Regions from separate parts of the Homo sapiens genome. Here all the other regions are linked to region 1. Evidence: promoter capture Hi-C in 16 types of primary human blood cells and fetal thymus (Javierre and others, 2016). All regions are on one chromosome and are shown on one strand. The core of a region is centred on a gene start or on the middle of the fragment in contact, and the rest is flanking DNA. Distances in the headings are between cores, read along the strand shown.

Region 1 (5,032 bases), core at 1,714-4,213:
TTTCAACACATCACCACTGTCTCTGTCCCTTCGCATCCACCTGCACCCTTCTGATATTGAACCTTGTGATTCTATCACTTTGACCATATAATTCAGGATGTCTATCTAAAGATCCTTATCTAGACCACATTTGCAAACTCCCTTTTGATATATCCAGTAACACAGGTCATAGGGATGTAGCTACCTTCCTTTGGGAAAGGTATTAGCCTGCACAACCAACATATTTTCTGTTGGTACACTATTTTTTTTGTCCTGTCCTCAGGCCACCCTCCTTCCTCAGCCTCCCAAAGCACTGTGATTACAGGCCTCAGACACCACACCCAGCCTGTCACTTTTATTTCTTTTTCCTTTATTTCACTGGCTGGAACCTTTCATATTGTGTGGAATAGTAGTGATAAGAGGGGACATTCTTGCCCTCATCCCAACCTCTAGGGGAAACTATGCTTTCACCAGTTTGTATGATGATTCTGATTCTGTAAGGATTGGTAGGTGATCTTGAGTTGAGGAAGTTTCCCATGATACTGCTTTCCATACTGACCGCAGTATTTCAGATTCCCACAAAATGTACGAAAATAGTTTCTCCACATCCTTGCTTGTGAAGCAGGTTCACTGCACACTGGTTGCCAATGTGTCTGAGTTGAGTGAGAGATAATCTCACGGACACACAGTAAGTTACATGAAGTGAATTTGTTACATACAGATCGGCAGATACCTGGGATTCATGCATTCTGCTCCCCAAGGCTCAGGAAAACCACCCAGTGCAGATGCAGTCTCTCTGTATGTGTTCAACTTGCATCACAGCTGTGGGAGGCTGGAAGGCGGCCCATCCTGGGTTTCATGCTCCAGGGATGCATGGCACGTTGGCCTAAAGCAACAAAGGGGATCCTGTTCTGGGGATCTGGAACACATCCTGTCCTTTTCTCACCGGTCCCTTCCTCTCAGGATGTTGCTTTTCCAGCACATTCTATATTCATTCTTGGGAACTACAAGTGAGAAGTCAGATGCAACTGGGCCAATTCAACCCCACTTGAATGCTGTCCTGCAGTCTCTCCGCCAATCCAGATATCCCTTTTATTTTTATATTTTTTGAGACGGAGTCTCGCTCTGTCTCCCAGGCTGGAGTGCAGTGGCGCAATCTTGGCTTACTGCACCTCCACCTCCCAGATTCAAGCAATTCTTGTGTCTCAGCCTCTCGAGTAGCTGGGACTACAGGCGTGTGCCACCATGCCTGGCTAATTTTTTTTTTTTTTTTTTTTGTATTTTTAGTAGAGACTTCGTTTCACCATGTTAACCAGGCTGGTCTCTAATTCCCGACCTCAGGTGATCTGCCCTCCTCGGCCTCCCAAAGTATTGGGATTACAGGCGTGAGCCACCACGCCTGGCCCAGATATCCCCTTTAATAAAGCTAGTCCATTTACATGTGCACTGACCTCCCTGGATCTGGAGGTAGAGGCTGGTCTCAGGAGATTGAAGTAATACCTCGACTGGCAGAATCTCAGGGCAACATCATTGAGGTACAGCCAGTTGCATTTCACTAGGCTCAAGAGGATTGCTGCCTCAAGCAGGATAACCAGGCCTGCCTGGAGCAGTGCCGTAGTCCAGGATCCCAGTGACCTAGGTGAGAAGTTGGTACTCAGATCAAAGAAAAGTTCTTCAGGTGACCCCACTGTCTGCAGCCAATGGGCCTGCTTGTGGGCCTTATGTATTTGTGTTTCAAAAATAACCTGAGGGCTTGATGTGGGGGTCCTTATCTCCCATGCAAGGTGATTCATGCCTATAATCCGAGCACTTTGGTAGGAGCAGATGGGAAGACTGCTTGAGGCTAGAAGCTGGAGACCAGCCTGGGCAACAAAACCAGACTACATCTCTATTAAAAACAAAGCAACAAACAGTAGAAAATTAGCACAGTGGAGAGGCACAGGCCTTTACTCACAGCTACTCGGCAGGCTGAGACAGGGGGTCACCTGCCCAGGACCCCAGGAAGTCAAGGTTGCAGTGAGCTATGATTGCGCCACTGCATTTCAGCCTCGGTGGCAGAGACCCTGTCTTAAAATTTTAAAAAGTATTAAAAAACTAAGTTGGACCGGGCGTGGTGGCTACTCTGGAGGCTGGGGCAAGAGAATCACTTGAACCCAGGAGGCGGAGGTTACAGTGAGCTGAGTGCCTGCCACTGTACTCCCGCCTGGGGGACAGAGGGAGACGCTGTCTCAAAACAACAACAACAACAAAAAACTACGTCGTTTATGGCTATTTTTATAAGTTACTGGCTTTTTTTTTTTAAAGAATCGGTGACTTATCTTCACACTGGCCTTAGTCCTCCATGCCCAACACGATGTCCCTAGGAAAGTCTCTGGAATTGAGCACAGGGTTGACCTTCACCGTCTAGAGTGAATGGGGAAGATAAATGAAAAGTATTTATCTTCTATGGGCACTGGCATGAAATAGAACATTCTACCCTGGCAGGGTTTTGCATTTCACATTTTAGCTTGCATCATCCCCTTCACAGACAATTCCAAAGTGTGTTAATTCAATTCCTAAAGCTTCCCTTCCCTTCCTCCCTTCCCTTCCCTCCTTACTTTTCTTTCTTGTCCATTTATTTTCGGTTTTTTTCTCTTTCTTTCTTGGTTTTCTTTCTCTTTTTCAACTTCTCTTTCTTTTCTCTTTCTCTTTACTCTCTCTCTTCTCTCTCTTTCTGCTTCCAGGGTAGGTGGGACTTGAAATTCATTTTAATAGAAGGAATTTTCGTGGATATAATCTACAACCGATTTTGCTCTGCGCAGGTAAGATCCGTTTTCAGACCAAAACCCTGAAAACAAGCGCAGCCAGTCAAGCGAACGGAAGCGCAGGCCCGGCCCAGGCTTTGTCCCGGCCCGCCCTGGTCCCAGCCAGTCCGGCCTCTAGGATGCGCGCGCAATTTCGTGCAAACCCGGAAGCGGACCGCGGGGGGCGAACGCCTAGAGCGCAGTTTCCGGTAGACCCGGAAGCCGATTGCAGGGAGAAACTGTTTTCGCAGCAGTGCGTGAGTTTCCCTTTGTCTATGTTAAGTCTAGGCTAGCCAGTTCTTCTCTGCTTCTATACCCGGGAGCTGAGGGGCATGCAGACCTTGAAATCCCGGCACCGCTCCCTCCACCCCGAGTAAATTCAGACATCCTTTGAGAGTCTGGGAGTCGCTTTCTGCGTGTTAAAATCGCTTGGAGGCTGGTCGTGTGCCCGGTCTTTTTGTCATTTACCCACGTAGACACCTCCTATCGTGGGGTTTACCTGCTTCAAATCCTTTAGTAACCCCTACACACGCCCCGCACCACGTAAAATCCTCACTCTCCGTTCCCCTAGCCTCGCCCTTCTTTGCCCCTAGAGCTCAGCGCCCCAACAGGGCACGAGAGGCCTCGTCCTCTGCCCAGACCTGGTTTCTGCAGACTCCACCCCTCTCCTGACCCACTCCTGCCTTTTTGCTCCTTAATCTGGACCCTCTGTTCCCCAGGCCTCCCTTTTCCAGCCACCGGTTCTCCTGACCCCGAGTGTGGGGGGTGACTTCAGTCTCCTGACATCCAGTGTTCTCTCGAGCCAGTTTCCAGCCCACAGAAAATGAGCTCTTCCGGAAGTGGGCATCTTATTCCAATCCCCTCCCTGTGAATGTGTGGAGAAAAAGAGATGGGAACGAGGCAGAGGAAATAGAGAAATTTTGAAAGAGAAATGAAGAATGAGAGACCCATTAACAGAAGGCAAAGTAGAAGGTGAGTGAGGGGTTTGCAGAGGCACAGTGAAAGAAGGTGCCGAGAAAATAGCAGGGGAGAAAAGTAACTGTAAAAATATAGACAAACCTGGGTCTGTAGAAAGACGAAATTCAACAAGATAGGGAAGGCTTCTCAGACAGAGGGGGGAGAGGAGGAGGGATTTGGAGCCAGGTCAGACAGAGCAGCGTGGTGCTGGGACAGCCAGAGGGGGCAGCTGGTCACAAGGAGAACAGGGAGAACCACAGCAGGGGGAGGCCTGGGATCTAAGGGTGCCAGAGAGTGGGGACAGGGGTGTGTAATATCGAAGATGGAATTTAACAGGGAGACCCCAAGGGGAGCTGAGATGTGGGAGGAAAGAGGCAGAAATATATGGAGATTAGGGACAATGAAAGATTGGGCAGAAAGAGGAATAAGAGGTGAAACAAGTTGTAAAAATGGATCAGAACAGGTGGGAGAGAAGGAATAGAGGGAAGAATGGGACAAAGAGAAGAGGAGGGACTCAAAATGAACAGAATCCTAGGGGAAAATAGAGAAAAAAAGAGCTAGGAAAAAAGATGAGAATGAGAGATATGTACAGAATGAGGCAGGGAAACAGTAGTGAGGAAAGAGGGGGACCCTGGTTACAGATGAGTGGTGAGTTGATTGGAAATTATGATTGAATTGTGACATATTAATTTTTCTATAATATAAAATTTGTTTAGAACACATGAGGCTAGGAGCTGTGGCTCACACGTGTAATCCCAGTACTTTGGGAAGCTGAGGTGAGCGGATCACTTGAGGTCAGGAGTTGAGACCAGCCTGGCCAACATGTGAAACCCATCTCTAGTAAAAATACAAAAATTAGCTGGGCCTGATGGCCTGCGCCTGTAATCCCAGCTACTCTGGAGGCTGAGGCAGGAGAATCGCTTAATCCTGGGAGGCAGAGGTTGCAGTGAGCCGAGATCGTGTCACTGCACTCCAGGTTAGGTGACAGAGCAAGACTCCATCTCAAAAAACAAAAAACAAAAAACCACACATGAAGATGAGAATTGGAACACTATTTATAAGGCACTCTTCTCTTTTCTTGGGATGGACTAGGGTGTGAGTGTATAAGTTAGGAAAAACCAGTGTGTTTTTGTGTTCACAGTGAACACAATAAAGAGCGCTCAACACAGAATGCCTCATCTCTGGTCACCAAAGTAATATGGGAATTACTTGTCACCAACAAGCAGTTCTTCGTCAGACAGCACCTGGGTGTTCTGTAATTTTACTCAGTTTAACTGGTCAGTGTAGGAACAACCACAGACACATTTTGATCA
Region 2 (5,032 bases), core at 1,884-4,383, about 15 Mb before region 1:
GTCTTCCTAAGGTGTAAGTTTTTCTGGATTTTGTCTGCTTCCACAGTTTAGGTTCCTTGGCTCACTTCCTTGCTCCAAAACCAACGTCTCTATTGACTTTTATATTTTAAAATTAAATTTTAAATATATGAGTGATGCTACCTTGCTAAAAGAGAGAGAGAGGCCGGGCGCGGTAGCTCACGTCTGTCATCCCAGCACTTTGGGAGGCCAAGGTGGGCAAATCACGAGGTCAGGAGTTCGAGACCAGCCTGGCTAAAATGGTGAAACCCTGTCTCCACTAAAAATACAAAAAATTAGCTGGGCGTAGTGGCAGGCGCCTGTAATCCCAGCTACTCGGGAGGCTGAGGCAGGAGAATCACTTGAACCCGGGAAGCGGAGGTTGCAGTGAGCTGAGAGCGCACCACTGCACTCCAGCCCGGGCGACAGAGTGAGACTCTGTCTCAAAACAAAAACAAAAACAAAAACAAACAAACAAACAAAAACAGAGAGAGAGGGAGAGAAATGACCTATAATGCTTAAGTTCCCTTTGACATTTACTTCTCCCCCTTTACCCTAAATCCTCTCTTCTCTCCCTAAAGGTTACCATTAGCAGGAGTTTTGTGTGTATCCCTCTATAAAATATATACTATTTTTATACTAATTATATCACATAGTATTCTAACAAATCCTTCTCAGTTCCTGCAGTCTACGTTTCTGATGGTCTTAACCTTTTTTAGCTTAAAGTACCTCTTTGTGAATCTGAAAAGCTGCCTATACTTTTTTTAAAAAAATCACATATCAACACATATAAAATGTCATAAGTTTAATATACAAGAAGCCCATCCACATGGAATCTATTCATCTCAGGTGAACAACTGTTTTTTACTTTTAAGTGATAGCTTCCTTTTTCTTGCAAGCACTCATCGTAACTATTCAAAAGCCAAAAGTAGTGACCCAGAATCACACAGATGCGGCTCAAGATCAATGCATGCTGTTCAATTTGAAACCAGAATGTGTCTGTCACCTCCTAAAAAAAAAAACAAAACCCAGTATATATCTCCCATATATAATTGGACATAATTCTTTTTTATTTTTATTTTTATTTATTTATTATACTTTAAGTTCTAGGGTACATGTGCACAACGTGCAGGTTTGTTACATATGTATACATGTGCCATGTTGGTGTGCTGCACCTGTTAACTCATCATTTACATTAGATATATCTCCTAATGCTACCCCTCCCCCTACCCCCACTCCCTGACAGGCCCCAGTGTGTGATGTTCCTTACCCTGTGTCCAAGTGTTCTCATTGTTCAATTCCCACCTATGAGTGAGAACATGTGGTGTTTGGTTTTCTGTCCTTGCGATAGTTTGCTAAGAATGATGGTTTCCAGCTTTATCCATGTCCCTATAAAGGACATGAACTCATCCTTTTTTATGGCTGCATAGTATTCCATGATGTATATGTGCCACATTTTCTTAATCCAGTCTATCATTGATGGACATTTGGGTTGGTTCCAAGTCTTTGCTATCGTGAATAGTGCCGCAATAAACATACGTGTGCATGTGAATTGGACATAATTCTTGCCTGACTTTGACCCACTCTAACTCAGTGCAATTTAATTATCTATATTTCACATAGCTATGCCTGATCACACACACAGGTTCATTCCCTCAAGAATTCTGATCACCAAATTTGCTATTCCAGTCACATTACCGGTAAGAGATCAATGTATTTGATATATGGTCTTGCAAGACCAAGTTTTATTAATTTTTTTCCCTCTGAAGGAGTGGTGAAATTATACTCTATCTTCTCTGTGCTGGAAGTTCACAAGTTTTTGATTATTCAAAAATCATAAAAGGCCAAGAGGTCTTGAAGTAAGTAAAAATAAGTTCAGGTTTACCAACAAACTCTACAGCCTTAAGTTACTTTCTGCCGGCCAAGGTTTTCTCATCAGAAAATGAGGACAAGTGTTTGACCTAGAATTTGGGAAATCTGACTAGTGCTGTACTGTGCTAAAATTCACTCTTCTTATGTATAACGTTGTTTTATTATTTTATTAGTTGATGGCCTCTCAACCGTACCCAGTAATAAGAGAAACTTTACCCTCTAATTAGAAAATAATGGATATCTACTTTTGGCCTGCTGTGGCAGAGGAAAAGGCAGTTACCCTAGGACTGGTTTTGAAATAATCTTTCTAAAAACAAAGAAAAAACTACGTTAATTTTGGATTCTTCCCGATAACACATATATTTGATCCAATAGAAAAATGATGTCTAAATTACTTGTCAGATAAATTGATTATCTTTTCCAGATTATTACATTACTATTTAAGGAAGAAATAACTTGGCCATAGTATTTTCACTGTCACACACGATCACACACAGCTCATTTGCTCTTGGCACCCTTACAGACACTGAAATACAAGCACAAAGAAAGCACGTTTATATAACACAGATCACCAGTTACTCAATTACGGCCACACACAAAAAAGCAGATATACATACAGATACCCTTCATAAGCAAACCACAATAGAGATCTGTGTAAAATCGTCTTACTCTGTTAGACGATTCTACACAGTTATAAAATCCCATTACTACGCAGCTTAAAGTACAAATCACCTCACACCCCACAGCAGGAAGAATCACACACAGGCAGAAACACAACCATACACACCCGGCCACGGAAAGACTCTCAGTCCACCTGGCATCTCCCATTGTCACACACACCCCAAGGGCCTGGGAGGGCACACACAGGGTCCTCTGCAAATCCGAGGTTCCGGCGGGTCCCCGCACCGGCCCCAGCTCCTCCCCCGCACCTGCCTGGCCGGCGGGTCCCACCCTCTCTCCTGCCAGGGGTAGACCCTGGGACCACTCAGCTCGCTCTCGCAGGCCCTGAGCGTCTGACGCCTGCGCACTGAGCGCGGGCGGGCGGGCACTCCCAGAAACCTCCGGGGCGCTGCAGGCGGGACAAGCAGGTTCCACAGGCCGAGCCCACGAGCCCCTCGAGGGGTGAGCGGCCCGGGCCTCCTGGCGTTCTGGCCGGCTAGCCAAGCGCTGGACTACATTTCCCAGAGGCACGGCGTCCGGAGCGCTGGACTACATTTCCCAGAGGCACCGCTCCCGGAGCGTAGCTTCATTTCCGTTAGTTTGCGAGATTTGGAGGCCTCGCGTGGGGAGAGGGCCGCGTCTGTGGAGGAGCTTGGCTCCGCACCTGCTGGGCTGGCGAACCCGAAATTGGGCTTGGAACCCGGGAGCCAGATCTTGGACCCTGAACTGCACCTCTGTCAAGGTAGGAGTGTCCGGGATGCCGGAGCGGACACGCGCGGAGAAAGCGTCGCTGGGGTTACTCGTGTGGCCGTGTCTCCGGTTTTGTGTGCAGGCTACAGCCTGCCTGGTATTGGCGACTGCCTGTGCATACACGACTGGACGTGTGTGGCTGTGGTTTTGTGTATGAGCATTTGTATGAGTGTGAGTTGTGACTCTGAGGGTGTTTGTGACTGTTTGCTTACCTGGCTGGGATATACTTATGTGACTGTGATTTTATGTGTGCCGCGTGTATAATTGGGGTTTGCCTGTGACTATGAAGTGTGTGACAGTTGTGACAAGAGTGTTTGGATGTTCTTGTGTCACTTTGAGGTTGTGTGTAAACCTGATATCGTGGGATGGATTTGCCAGTAAATTTAAGGTGTGTGACAGTGTTGCTGTGACACGGTGTTTATTACCGCGTGTTTCCCTGATTTCGTACTGGGTTGGGTGACTGTCTGATTGTGTGTGACTGTGGGGTTGTGTGTGCTGTTTTCATGACTGTGTAAAGAGACTAAAATTGCAGCTTTGAAAGGGTGTTTTTGGCGGTATGTGTCTCTGACAAGGTGCTTGGATGTAATTATATGCCTTGTACTTAATGGGATTTTGTTTGAGACAAGGTGGTCTAACAATGTAGCATAATTGGGTGATTGTGCCTCTAGCTGTGTAACTGTGGAAATGTGATTATGTGTGACTTTATGTGGCCATTTGTATATTCTGTGACCTTATGGGGGTTTAGTCCAGTACAGAAGTAAATTTCTTTTTGGTATTTCTGGGGTTCATTTGGGGCTGAGGTCTGCCTATGGATTGTGAGTCCCATGTGGCTCTGTGCTCCTCCCATGTGGCTCTGAGGACTTAAGGACTTTTTGATTTGACCACAGTGGCTGCCCTTTCATCCATGGCCTGTATTGCTTCATTTCTGTATCCATCCTCGGTTCACCTTGGGAAATGTAGTTACTTACGAGTTCACGACTTCTTCCCTGCGTCCTCTTGCCTTATAGCCTTAAGGGGATTGGGTGCAGGGAAGTGGCAAGAAGTAAGGAAGTCAGACATTTGGACACCTGAGTGATGAATAGGAGTTATTTGCAAGTTACAGACCTGGTCTTAGGATGAGAATTTTAGGGCTGATAATACCTTCAAGACAGCCACTGGATGCTGTGCGCGGTGGCTCACATCTGTAATCCCAGCGCTTTGGGAGGCAGAGGCGGGTGGATTACCTGAGGTCATGGTTTCACCATGACCTCTACTAAAAATACAAAATTAGCTGGGCGTGGTGGCGCATGCCTGTAATCCCAGCTACTTAGGAGGCTGAGGCAGGAGAATTGCTTGAACCCGGGAGGCGGAGGTTGCAGTGAGCCAAGATCAAGCCACTGCACTCCAGCCTGGGCAACAAGAGTGAAACTCATTCTCTAAATAAATAAATAAATAGGCCACTGGAAATATAATGGGACTCCAGGAGTGGGAATAGTTTCAGAGGGAGTGCTTTAGGAGACAGCCACCCAGTTCTGAACCTGAAGCACCCCACTGCAGGACTGTCTCCAGTGTACAGCTTTGAATACAGAAATAAATTCAAGCCCAAGACAGCTGTGACCTGGCCCTTCTTTCTGATACAGAAGGTAGAAGACTTATTCTAGTCTCCTCCTGACTTTTCTTTATGTTAAATGAGATTAAGAGGATGGAGGAAGAGGGTATGTTATAATTTAGCATATTCCCCAAGAAAGGCCTAATATCTCATTCCATTTTTCTT
Region 3 (5,032 bases), core at 1,767-4,266, about 15 Mb before region 1:
ATCCGCCCACCTTGGCCTCCCAAACTGCTGGGATTCCACCGCGCCTGGCCCATTTTTAATCTTTATATACTGCATTTTCACTGTATCTTTTCTGTGTTTAGATATGTTTAGATACACAAAGTCTTACTACTGTGTTACAGTTGCCTATGGTAGTCAGTACAGTAACATGCTGTACAGGTTTGTAGCCTGGGAACAATAGGCTGTGCCATATAGCCTAGGTTTGCAGGAGGCTATACCATCTAGGTTGTGTAAGTATACTCCATGATGTTCATACAAGGACAAAATTGTCTAACCATGCATTTTTCAGAATGTATCCCCATCATTAAGCAACACAATTGTAGCTTCCTAATTGGTCTCTGTGCTTCTTCCCTTGACCTCCCTGCTCTTTCCTCATTCGTCCTCCCATAGGCCATTCTCATCAGAGCAGCCAAAGCTGTCTTCTTAAATTGTAAGCAGATAGTATCACTTCCATGCTCAAAAACCCTCCAGCAGCTTCCCATCTCACTCAGAGGAAAAGCCAAAATTAATACTACGGGCCATAAAGCCCAATTTGATCTGCCCTCCTCCCATCCACTTACCTTTCTTCTCTTCTCTCCCACTACTCTCCCCTTCAATTATTCTATTTTAGCCTCTTCATTAACAGGCATGTTGCCACTTCAGAGCCTTTACAACTGCTGTTCCCTCTGCCTGGAATAACTTTTCTCACTCACGCATAAATAGCTCCTTTACTTCCTTCATATCTTTATTACTACCTTTTCAGGATGCCTTCCCTGGCGAGCCCATCTAAAACTCAGACTCCTATCTCTAGTTCTAAATATCCTCTCACTTCACATTTTTTCTTAGTATTCTTCACCATTTAAAATACTTCATACTTAATTTACTTACCTTGTTTATTATCCAGCCCACAAAAATGTAAGTACCATGATAGTAGGGGGTTTGTCTCTTGTTCACTGCTATATCCCAAGCACCTAGGATTGTGCCTGTTACACAGACAGCCTTCAATAAATGAGTCTATGAATGAATGAATCCTTAATATATGAAGAACTCTGGAAAAGAAATTTGAAAACAGAACACTACTTTAGAAAACATATAATTTACAAAAGATTTTTTTAAATGCTTGACTTCAATAAGTAATGAAACAATTGTTTTAGAGCAAATTAATTTATATCCATGAGGTTAACAAAGATTACTACTATTTAGAATATCCATTGTTATCAACAGTGTATGAGGATATAAGCAGTCTTATACTATGCCAATAATACTGCAGATTATTGGAACTTTACAGAATAATTGGATAGGTTCTGGGAACCTTTAATAAAAGCATACATTTTAACCTATCAATTCTACTTTTAGGAGTCTGCTCCCCCTCCAAAAAAATTTAGAAAAGTATATTTAAACACGTGCCAAATAGTTGCTGATAAACACAGTTTATAATTTCAAGAAGCTACAGAGAACTAAATCACCCATCAACAGGGGTAAACGTATACCATGAAATACTTTAAAATGAATGCATAATTTGTGATTGTTTAAATGGAAAGATACTAATCATACATTGTTAAACAAGAAAGGTTGGTTACAGAGCTGTATGTATAGTGTTACTGCAATTTTGAAGCCATTATGCACACATATAGAACATATGAATGTATACGTATGTATACACAAAGGCGGGGGTGAAAAGATGGAAAGTAAATTTTGACAGTAGTTGCATGGCCTGTAGAACTATGAATGATTTTTGTTCTTCGAGCTTTTCTGTATTTTTCTCCACCCCACTCCACTCCCCAAATGGGGTGGAGTAGGGAAGGAGGAGAATGAGTTTAGTAAGTACACAAAACAACGTAGCTAATACACGAAAATAAAATTAAAAATAAATAAATATTAAAGTGTTGGGGATATCGATGTTTCATATAAAAACATATTTCCGGCCGGGCGCGGTGGCTTACGACTGTAATCTCAGCACTTTGGGAGAACGAGGCGGGTGGATCACCTGCGGTCAGTTGTTCGAGACCAGCCTGACCCACATGGAGAAACCCCGTCTCTACTAAAAATACAAAATTAGCCAGGCGTGGTGGTGCGCCTGTAATCCCAGCTACTCGGGAGGCTGAGGGAGGAGAATTGCTTCTTCCCAGGAGGCGGAGGTTGCGGTGAGCCAAGATCGCGCCATTGCCCTCCAGCAGCCTGGGCAACGAGAGCGAAACTCCATCTCAAAAACAAAAACAAAAAAACAACGTATTTCCAATGACCAAAGCTAAAGACATGCAGCGCTGGCACAAACGCCAAGTCTCACACATCTACACCCACAAGCACACCCTACCTTGTATCCACAGTTTTTCATTCATTCAAGATCCCACTGTCATGCACGTTTGCACGCAGGTTCATACTGAAAGATAAAAGGGAAAGCGCCTCCACGAAATCCGCTTACGGACACGATCCCGGGGCCACACTCAGCCAGACGAATGTCTGGCAAATGACAGTCACTTCACGCCAGACTCTCACAGTCCTTCACACGCCACTCCCACTGCCTCAGGGAACCACAAGCACAGGCATCGCCCCGCCCGGCGTCCTCCTCCAAAGATTGGGGCACCAGGACCGCGGGCCCCCACTCCCACCCAGCACAAAGAGTCCGGCGCTCAGAGCTAGCGGTTTCCCGAGGACTCACCACCAAGCCCGCGGACACAGGCCCCGATTCCACACTTAACGCTGCCAAAGTGGCAGAGCCGGCGCGGGCTGGGACAGAGGCGGCACTGAGGCCGGCGCTGTCGGTGGCTGAGAGCGCCACAAGTCTCGGTCCGTTACACCAGGGGCGACGCTTCCCAGAGGCCCCCGCGGCTCACCCGGGCGGGACTGGCTTCACTGTTTGCGCGTCCTGAGAAGCAGACCACGGTGTTCCAGGGCTCACAGCTCCGCGCAGGGGAGCTCAGCCTAGGTTTTGCACGAGCGGCCTCCCGCGAGCCCAGCTCTGAGAGATTGGGAGCGCAACTTGGTGCTGAGAAGAATCGAATCGTTCCGCTGCTTCCTGCGCCGAACTACATTTCCCAGAGGCCTTCGCGGCCCTACTTCCCCGACCCCACCTGCAAAAAGGCACTTCCTTCTTACAGTCGGCTGGAGCTGCAGGTTCGCAAGGTCCGTGAAGGAAGCCCGGCTCAGTGTGTTTAGTTCCGTCTTTTTGGGTCTCTACCTGAGGCTAGAATACAGCGGGGTGAAGGTGGTGAGAGCTCCAGGGCCAGTGAAGGCCGGGTCAGCTGGAGCCTTAAGGTCCTGACAGCGGCTAGAAGAGGGAGGAGTGACGTAGTGTGACTGTATGTGTGAAACTTCGGCCATGGAATTTGGAGTGGGGTTTCCAGGGCGAGAGACCCTGTCCAGTGACATCTGAGGTCGTGCGAATATGCGACCTTTTGTGTGACCATGGTCGCGTTTTATATTCTCGTGGCTGTTTGATTCTGACCTTGCAGTTTTGTCAGAGACAATGTGCATGTATTTGTTCTTTCTGGACTTCTCGATTGTGAGTGTGACAGTGTTATTGGATTTCATGACCCGGGATCGTGAGCGAAAAGTAGTGTGGCCAGACCGCCTGACTTCTAAACAGACTTGGCCTTACTAGCTGTGTCATCTCAGACTAGGTACTTAACTTCTCTATGCCTTTCGTGTTTTTTTTTTTTTGTTTGTTTTGTTTTTTTTGAGGCAGAGCCTCACTTTGTTGCCCAGGCTGGAGAGTGCAGCGGCGCGATGTTGGCTCACTGCAGCCTCGAACTCCCGGGCTCAAGCGATTCTCTGCCTCGGCCTTCCGAGTAACTGGGACCACAATCAAGGGACACTCCGCCCGGCTGATTTTTGTTTGTTTGTTAGTAGAGATAAGGTCTCGCTATGTTGCCCAGGCTGCTCTCGAACTCCTGAGCTCAAGCGATCCTCCCGCCTGGGCCTCAAAAAGTGCTAGGATTACAGGCATGAGCCGCACGGGGCCGGTCTTAATACCTTTAATAAAGAGATAATAGGCCGGACGCGGTGGCTCACGCCTGTGATCCCAGCACTTTGGGTGGGCAAAGCGCACGGATCATTTGAGGTCACGAGGTTTTTGTTTGTTTGTTTTTTAAGACGGAGTCTTGCTCTGTCGCTCAGGCTGGAGTGCAGTGGCGCGATCTCGGCTCACTGCAACCTCCGCCTCCTTTCGCCTCCCAGGTTCAGGCAATTTTTCTGCCTCAGCCTCCTGAGTAGCTGGGACTTAAGGCGCGTGCCACCACGCCCGGCTAATTTTTTTGTATTTTTAGTAGAGACGGGGTTTCACCATGTTGGTCAGGCTGGTCTCGAACTCCTGACCTCGTGATCTGCCCACCTTGGCCTTCCAAAGTGCTGGGATTACAGGCGTGAGCCACCGTGCCAGGCTGAGGGTAGCGGGTGGGAGACTGCCAGGAGTGTAGTGCGCTTGCGCAGTTTACCACCCTGCATCCCCCCCACCCCGCTCCCCTCCCAATTTTTTTCGGGTATCCAGCACAATTCTAGGAATTCGCCTCCCACCCATTTTGAGTAGACGCGCCACTAGCGCGTTCCCACGCACAAACCTTTTCCCTGCGGCCAACCTGCGATTCTCAACTCCCCGCCCTGGTTGCTAAGGGAGGCGCGCAGAGCGCTTGTGCCTGCGCACTTCCACACCAGCCCGTGTAGTGTGACGCTGGGCCCCGTCCCTGTGACCGGGCCAGGCTCGGAGCTGCAGGGAATCCGGACTTTCGGGCTCTCTGGAAGGCCGGGGAGAGGCCAGTGTGGGAGGACCTGGTGGGGAGGAGGCCGTGTTACAAACCCTGCGCGGAGCTGCACCGCTGCTGCCAGACACTGCGACGCCGCGACCTTTTCTACTCCGGACTACGTTTCCCAGCGGACCCCGCGGGAGTTGGGCCGGCGGCCCCTTTGTGTCCTCCGGGGGCGGAGGCAGCTGAGGCGCTTCTTTCCGGGCCCGTAAGGGCTGGGTTCCATCCAACTAAGGGTAGCGGTGAGACCCGAGTGCAGATTCCCCGAGCCTTCGGGGCAGGAAGGAGATCTTCCA

What was found. The method cuts DNA at HindIII sites, captures the fragments that hold promoters and counts their contacts. A CHiCAGO score of 5 or more calls a contact.
Region 2: the fragment with the promoter of ZNF420 here is called in contact with the fragment with the promoter of ZNF528 in region 1 in 5 of 17 cell types (total CD4 T cells, non-activated CD4 T cells, total B cells and 2 more); the score reaches 7.7 in total CD4 T cells.
Region 3: the fragment with the promoter of ZNF569 here is called in contact with the fragment with the promoter of ZNF528 in region 1 in 1 of 17 cell types (total B cells); the score reaches 5.5 in total B cells.

What each region holds. Positions count from the first base shown.
Region 1 is chr19:52,394,886-52,399,917 of GRCh38, forward strand. It overlaps ZNF528 (zinc finger protein 528), which reads left to right and starts at 2,964. Exons shown (of 7, transcript NM_032423.3): 1 at 2,964-3,019; 2 at 3,482-3,734. ZNF528-AS1 (ZNF528 antisense RNA 1) reads right to left here and starts at 2,872. Exons shown (of 7, transcript NR_125345.1): 1 at 2,577-2,872; 2 at 2,310-2,382; 3 at 1,725-1,867; 4 at 1,480-1,614; 5 at 713-865. It also overlaps a transcript of ZNF880 not described here. RefSeq lists an enhancer at 2,276-3,475. The HindIII fragment of the contact is 5,447 bases long and covers 2,539-5,032 here.
Region 2 is chr19:37,075,300-37,080,331 of GRCh38, forward strand. ZNF420 (zinc finger protein 420) reads left to right here and starts at 3,134. Exons shown (of 5, transcript NM_144689.5): 1 at 3,134-3,271. It overlaps LOC105372390 (a long non-coding RNA gene), which reads right to left and starts at 2,898. Exons shown (of 2, transcript XR_001754095.2): 1 at 2,799-2,898; 2 at 1-1,006. RefSeq lists a silencer at 2,590-2,879 and an enhancer at 2,970-3,209. The HindIII fragment of the contact is 14,557 bases long and covers 1-5,032 here.
Region 3 is chr19:37,464,428-37,469,459 of GRCh38, forward strand. ZNF569 (zinc finger protein 569) reads right to left here and starts at 3,017. Exons shown (of 6, transcript NM_152484.3): 1 at 2,657-3,017; 2 at 886-1,046. It overlaps ZNF570 (zinc finger protein 570), which reads left to right and starts at 4,929. Exons shown (of 5, transcript NM_144694.5): 1 at 4,929-5,032. RefSeq lists enhancers at 2,838-2,887, 4,604-5,032. The HindIII fragment of the contact is 12,295 bases long and covers 1-5,032 here.